Regions from separate parts of the Homo sapiens genome. Here region 2 is linked to region 1. The links are contacts of gene promoters, found by promoter capture Hi-C in blood cells and fetal thymus (Javierre and others, 2016). All regions are on one chromosome and are shown on one strand. Each heading gives the region's core, a stretch centred on a gene start or on the middle of the fragment in contact. The rest is flanking DNA. Distances are from core to core; before and after follow the strand shown. Region 1 holds the start of NDUFA10 (NADH:ubiquinone oxidoreductase subunit A10). Region 2 overlaps COPS8-DT (COPS8 divergent transcript).

Evidence for each region. The method cuts DNA at HindIII sites, captures the fragments that hold promoters and counts their contacts. A CHiCAGO score of 5 or more calls a contact.
Region 2: a fragment that was not itself captured here is called in contact with the fragment with the promoter of NDUFA10 in region 1 in 1 of 17 cell types (total B cells); the score reaches 5.2 in total B cells.

Annotation. Positions count from the first base shown.
Region 1 is chr2:240,023,279-240,026,821 of GRCh38, reverse strand. NDUFA10 (NADH:ubiquinone oxidoreductase subunit A10) reads left to right here and starts at 1,480. Exons shown (of 10, transcript NM_004544.4): 1 at 1,480-1,595. The coding sequence starts at 1,521. RefSeq lists an enhancer at 656-1,485 and a silencer at 1,294-1,553. The HindIII fragment of the contact is 3,872 bases long and covers 199-3,543 here.
Region 2 is chr2:237,078,347-237,081,803 of GRCh38, reverse strand. The region is part of intron 1 of COPS8-DT (COPS8 divergent transcript); the gene reads left to right. Among named protein-coding and RNA genes, the nearest start is that of COPS8-DT, 5.7 kb to the left of the region's middle. The HindIII fragment of the contact is 6,185 bases long and covers 1-3,457 here.

The sequences.
Region 1 (3,543 bases), core at 231-2,730:
AAGTTACGTCTGCGTGCTGTGATACCTAGAGGAACCACTACGAAAACTATACATAATGATATTTCCCAAGACATTATCAGTAAATCAAGATGGAATTCTAAAAAAATGTACTGTATCCATTGGAAGGCACAAAAAAAAAAAAAAAAAAAAAATGCAAAGGAAACAAGGCAAAAAACAGCAGACATGAACCCTAAAGCTTGTTAAATGGATTTCAGGTGCCCTCCAGGATCTAAAAACCAGACCCTCCTGCGTTGGGGACCGGGAATCCGTATTTTTGACAAAAAGCAATTCTTCAATTATAGAAACATCCATAGAACCGGCCGTAGTTTACACAGCTGCATTCCCACTGTTTTACAATCGCATGATCATTTCTGAAAAGTTGAAAACAAAGTTAAAGAATATTTAAGGGGTTAAGAACAAAAAGCCTGGGGAACACAAAAGATTATAAAAACCCTTCCCAACAGCAGGCATACTTGGAAGGAAACCTCACATGCAAGGCTCCTTCGTGGAGCCCAGAGCCCAGGTCCTGACGGGAGCACATTTTAAGAGATGGACTTGCCGGCGCGGTGGCTCACGCCTGTAATCCTAGCACTTTGGGAGGCCGAGGCGGGTGGATCACGAGGTCAGGAGATCGAGACCATCCTGGCTAACATGGTGAAACCCCGTCTCTACTAAAAATACAAAAAATTAGCCGGGTGTGGCGGCGGGCGCCTGTAGTCCCAGCTACTCGGGAGGCTGAGGCAGGAGAATGGCGTGAACCAGGGAGGCGGAGCTTGCAGTGAGCGCGATGGCGCCACCGCACTCCAGCCTGGGCGACAGAGCGGGACTCTGCCTCAAAAAAAAAAAAAAAAAAAAAAAAAAAAAAAAAAAAAAAAAGAGATGGACTTGGAGCGTGTGCTTTTGTTTTCTATGCTATTCAATGTGTTCACAGCAGGTCCCCTGGATGAGACCACTTAGCCTTCAGCTCCGGAGGCGACCCAGGCCGGCCTTGCCAGGTCCCTCTCCCTGACAGGCGCCCCGCGACAGGGGTCCCACCCCGTCCCTCCGCTCCTCGCCCCCTCTTTTTCCACTTTCCCTCCCCAGCGAGAACGTTCTGAGAGCTAGGAATGTTCTCTAGGAGGTCGCTTTGACGTCCACACCGCGCCTGGGGGATTCTGCGGGGAGCACAGGACCCTGGGACGAGACGCAGAAGTCGCTCCACGCCCTGGGCGGCCTCAGCTCCCGCGACACCGCAGCAACTCAGAACCCAGGCAGGGGCCGGGCAGCCAGCATGCTGCCCCCACGTTCACCTCCAACTCCCACCTCTCGGCCCTCGCCCCAACCCGCAGGACCCTGGCAGCGCACTGGCTGTCTCCGCGGAAGCCCCCGAGGGCCTCGGCGCGGCCCCGCCCCCTGGAAGGTTCCCGACAGGCGCCGCGGGCACCCCGGCCGTGACGTCACGGCAGCGCGCCGGCCGCGAGAGAGGGCCCCGTCGCGACCGCGTCCCCTTGGGTCCTTGATCCTGAGCTGACCGGGTAGCCATGGCCTTGCGGCTCCTGAAGCTGGCAGCGACGTCCGCGTCCGCCCGGGTCGTGGCGGCGGGCGCCCAGCGCGTGGTGAGCGGGCGGCGGGGTGGCAGGGTGGCGGGGTGGCAGGGTGGCGGGGTGGCGGGGTGGGGAGCAGTTCCACATCTCCCCCGGCCTCTGGCGGCGGCTCCCAGGTCGCTCTCCGGGTGGGTTTGGGGGACCCCTCCTGCCTCCGGAATTGTTTGGTCTTTGGTCGTGGACAGACCTCAGGGGGCCACGAGCTTCTCCAGGCCATTTTATCTCAGCTTTAAGCAAAACGCTGGAGCGCGGAGGTGATCAGGGCCCCGAGGCTGCCCTGATGCGGGAGGCCCGTGTGCAGGTGGCAGGCCGGGGGCACACGCGCTTGTCATTAGATAATTCACGTAGCAGCCCTGTCAAGAGCCGTTTAAAGGTCGGGCCCTGCTGGGTGCTTGGGTGATGCCATGTTGAGCAGACACGGAGTTCAGTGCTTGTGTCCGCTTCCTTTTGCCTTTACTCTGACTGACTACTCTCATTTCTTAGCATTTTGCCCCCACCTTCTTCAGTGAAATCGTTTCATACATTTGTAACACAGTTGGATTGCTTTGTCACATTCTGCCTTACATCTTGGGATCCTTCTACCTAATGCGTTTTTTAAAATGTGCATACATTGAGCGCATTCTTTGTGCTATAAGGTTCTATGGATTTTTTCTTTGTGCTATAAGGTTCTATAGGTTTTGACACGTGTGTAATAGCATGTCTCCACCATTATAGGTTCGTACAGAGTAGCTTCACTGCCTTAAAAAATTCCCCTCTGCTTTACCTATTAAACCCTTCTTTTTCTCCAACCCCTGACAACCACAGATCTCATTAACATTTCCATAGTTGCCTTTTCTGGAATGTCATATAATTAGAATCATACAATATATTGCCTTTTCAGACGCCTTGAATACTTGGAAATATCTATGTAAGATTCACTTATGTCTTCGTGGCTTGGTAACTCATTTCTTTTTAATCACTGAGTAATATCTCATTGCATGGATGTACTTCAATTCATTCAGCAATTGAAGGGCATCTTGGTTGCTTCAAGTTTTTGGCAATTATGAATAAAGCTGCTGTAATCGTGTACATGCAGATTTCTTTTTGGAAATACATTTTTATATCATTTGGGTAATACCTGGAAGAGCGATTACTCATGTAGTAAGACTAGTTTTCTAAGAAGCTGCCAAGCCATCTTCCAGAGTGACTGTGCCATTTGACTCCCACCAGAAGTGAAGGCTCTCCTTGTTGCTCTGCGTGCTCGCCAGCATGCGGGGCTGTCGGTTACTTTGGATTGCTATCCATTCTGATAGCTGCGTAGTGGTATCTTGTTTCAACTTTGGAATATCTCATGATATACAGTGTTCATCTTTTCATATACTTATTTGCTATCTGCGTTAATTTCATTTGCGAGAGGTGTTTACATCTTTTGCCCATTTTTAAATTGGGTTGTCTGCTTTGCCTTGTTTTGTAACTTGTTTCTTCCTTACTCTTCAGTTATCAAATCAAGATCGAAAAATATCTTGATATTTCATATTCTCCTGTTTTATTTAAATTTCACTATAAAGTATTTTAATATTTTTGTGTTTTTCTGAGTACTTAGTATTCCATAATATGGATATGCCTTAATTTTGTTTAACTATTCCTCCGTTGTTGGACATTTAAGGGTTTCTATTTGCATTTTTGGTGTTACATCATACTTCATTGAGCATCCTTATAGGTCAATCTTATGTATATACTCTTTGAATGGATTCCTAATGCTGTAGACCCAGCGTCCTCTAGGTTTCATTACCATTAGCAGTTTAGGATGGTACTCATTGTCTTGTCCTAACTCTGTAATCATTTTTTAAATTATTTCTCATTTTGACACATGAAAAACTAATGTTTCCTTGTTAATAGTCTTTTGTTTTTTTGTAGCAAGGTTGACCACTTTTTCATGTGGTTTTTGGCTATATTTTATAATTTTAAAATAAGCTGTGTG
Region 2 (3,457 bases), core at 233-2,732, 2.9 Mb after region 1:
TGTGGATGAGTCGGCCAGTGTGGGAGAAAGAGTGGGAGAGGAGAACGGATGATGAGCCCGGGTCACCTCTGTGCCCACAACACTCCCATTGTGTCGGTCTGGATTGTAGCAGGAAACATATGGAATACTCAGTGTATTCATCTGTTTTCACACTGCTGTAAAGAAATACCCAAGACTGGGTAATTTATAAAGGAAAGACGTTTGATTGACTCACAGTTCAACATGGCTGAGGAGGCCTCAGGAAACTTACAATCATGGCAGAAGGGGAATCAGGTACATCTTACATGGAGGCAGGTGAGAGAAGAGCAAAGGAGGAATTCTCAAACACTTATAAAACCGTCAGATCTCGGCCGGGCGCGGTGGCTCACGCCTGTAATCCCAGCACTTTGGGAGGCCAAGGTGGGCGGATCATGAGGTCAGGAGATCGAGACCATCCTGGCTAACATGATGAAATCCAAAAAAATACAAAATTGGCTGGGTGTGGTGGCACACACCTGTAGTCCCAGCTACTCAGGAGGCTGAGGCAGGAGAATCCCTGGAACCTGGGAGGTGGAGGTTGCAGTGAGCCAAGATCGCACCACTGCACTCCAGCCTGGGCAACAGAGTGAGACTCCATCTCAAAAACAAACACACACACACACAGAAAAACCCCGAAACCGTCAGATCTCATAAGAACTCACTATCATGAGAACAGCATGGGAGGAACTGCCCCCGTGATCCAATCACCTCCCTCCCTTGACACATGGGGATTACAATTCGAGATGAGATTTGGGTGGGGACACAGAGCCAAACCATATCTCAGATTGGGCAATTTGAGGAAAATTTAATAAAATGGCTATTTACAAAGGTATTGGCAAGATACTGGAAAACTACAAAGGATAGTACCCCAGGGCTCACAATAGTTGACATCATTACCACCCCTAGAGTTTAAAAAGTGCACGAAGGGGAGTTCCACTTCTGTGGAGACACTTCCCACTGAAACAACCATAGCTGGAGAAAATTTCTAAGAAAACTTAAAAGTTTCTGGAAATTATCTTAAAGGTATATAAAAAATGAAAAAAAAATTTATTCAATAAAATCTATCACAACTTGGTAAGAACAGAGAGAGTGTGTGGCATTTGAGCCATAATCTGCTCTTTCCAGCCCCGCACCTAGCTCAGCTTCATAGAAGCTCCACTGTGGGTGGATGTGGTCAAGAAGATGGGGCTCACTCTCCCTTCCTCTATCAAACAAGGGATAAGGTGTCTCACAAGAAGGCGAAGGTTGCAAGCATTTCTCATCCACTCCAACTCCAAGTTTAACGCTAAATTCTAGCTAACTGTGGCCAAGAGGCAGGAGGCTCCCTTCCTCCACCAAGCTCCCACTCATGGATGGAGACTATACACTAGGCATAACAGGTCTGGAATACAGGGGTCCTAATTGCCCTCACTCCAGCTTGCTTTCTGGGGTAAACATATATTCTGTGTCCAGTAGAAAAGCTGAGAAGATCAGAGGCTACCATTCCTGCCATGTGCCAGAGTAATGGCTCTGGCATCCAAAAACCAATCAGTGTAATAAGCCATATCAACAGAATAATGGATCAAAACACACGTTCATCTCAATAGATGCAGAATACATATATAAAACAAAATCCAACCTCCTTTTATAATAAAAACACTTACTGAACTAGGGAGAGAAGGGAACGTCTTCAAACTGACAAAAGACACCTATATAAAACCTGCAGTTAACATTACATTTAATGGTCAATGACTGATGGCTTTTCTCTATGATCAGGAGGAAGACAAGAATGTCAGCTTTTGCCATTTTTATTTAACAGTGTACTACAGGTTCTATCCAGTGCAATTAGGGAAGAAAAATAAATGGAAAGCATCCAAATTGGAAAGGAAGTAGTAAAGCTATATCTATTAAAGATGACATGATCTTGTATATAAGAAATTCATCAAAAAAGAAAAAAAAACAGGTAGAACTAATTGTGAAAGGAAAATAAATCTTGGTATCCTAAACTTACTAAGCCAAAGGGAAAAGTCAGGCTGGGAAGTGGGTCATGCAAGCCTGCCTCCCATTTTGGTTCCTAAATAAGATGGCTACACACGTGAAAAGCTACACACCTCCCCTGTGGGCCCCAAGATCTTTACCCTAAAGCATTTATGTTAAAGTTCACCATGGCAATGTAAATTAATAGCTTATCTTCACAGGTGCGGGGACATAGGGCATAACTCAAAGCGATCCCTCTGCCCACCTGAAACAAATGCATATCTGATTTTTTCCTCTCCCCTATCCTCTGTGTTATCTTAAGTAAAAATGCATATTCACAGAGCCAAAGACACGAATGACTCTTTTCCTCCCCCGCAACATGAAAATTGTGCATTTCTCAATATCCCACACTTTCCCCTTTAAACATTGAAGCTCTCAAAATCATCTCTCGAAAAAGGCATAGACATGTCTCCCAGGCACACCCTTAACTTTGGCAAATACACCTCCTTAAAATGATTGAGACTTGCTTTGGTCATTTTCCTTGATTGACATAGTATTGGGTCCAGCGAGGTTGCAGGATACAAAATCAACATGCAAATATCAATTTTATTTCTGTATATTAGCAATGAATAAGCCAAATATGAAATTAAGAAAACAATTTCACCTGTTATATTAGTCCATTCTCACACTACTATTAATATAAAGAACTACCCAAAACTGGGTAATTTATAAAGAGGTTTAAATGACTTAGTTCTGCACACCTGGGAGACCTCAGGAAACTTACAATCATGGTGGAAGGTGAAAAGGAAGCGCAGACCTTCACACGGCAGCGGGAAAGAGACAGCAAGAGCAAGAGCAGGGAAAACTGCCTCTAAAACCATCAGATGGCTGGGCACAGTGGCTCACACCTGTAATCCCAGCACTTTGGGAGGCTGAGGCCGGCAGATCACCTGAGGTCAGGAGTTCGAGAAAATCCTGGCCAACATGGCGAAACCCCTGTCTCTACTAAAAATACAAAAAAAATTAGCTGGGCGTGGTGGCACACGCCCGTATTCCCAGCTACTCGGGAGGCTGAGGCACCAGAATCACTTGAACCCGCGAGGCAGAGGTTGCAGTGCACTCCAGCCTGGGCAACAGAGTGAGACTCCTCAAAAAACAAACAAATAAAACAACAGCAAAAGAAAAACCATCAGATACCTTGAGAACTCACTCACTATCACAAGAACAGCATGGAGGTAACTGCCCCCATGATTCAGTTACCTCCCCCCAGGTCCCTCCCATGACACATGGGGATAATGGGAACTACAACTGAAGATGAGATTTGGGTGGGGAACACAGCCAAACCATATCACCTGTAATAGTATGAAAAAGAATAAAATACTTAGAAATAAATATAATAAAAGAAGTGTAAAACTTAAACTCTGAAAACTACTCAACAATGTTGAAGAAAATTAAAGACCTAGGTAAATGGAAGACATCCCTT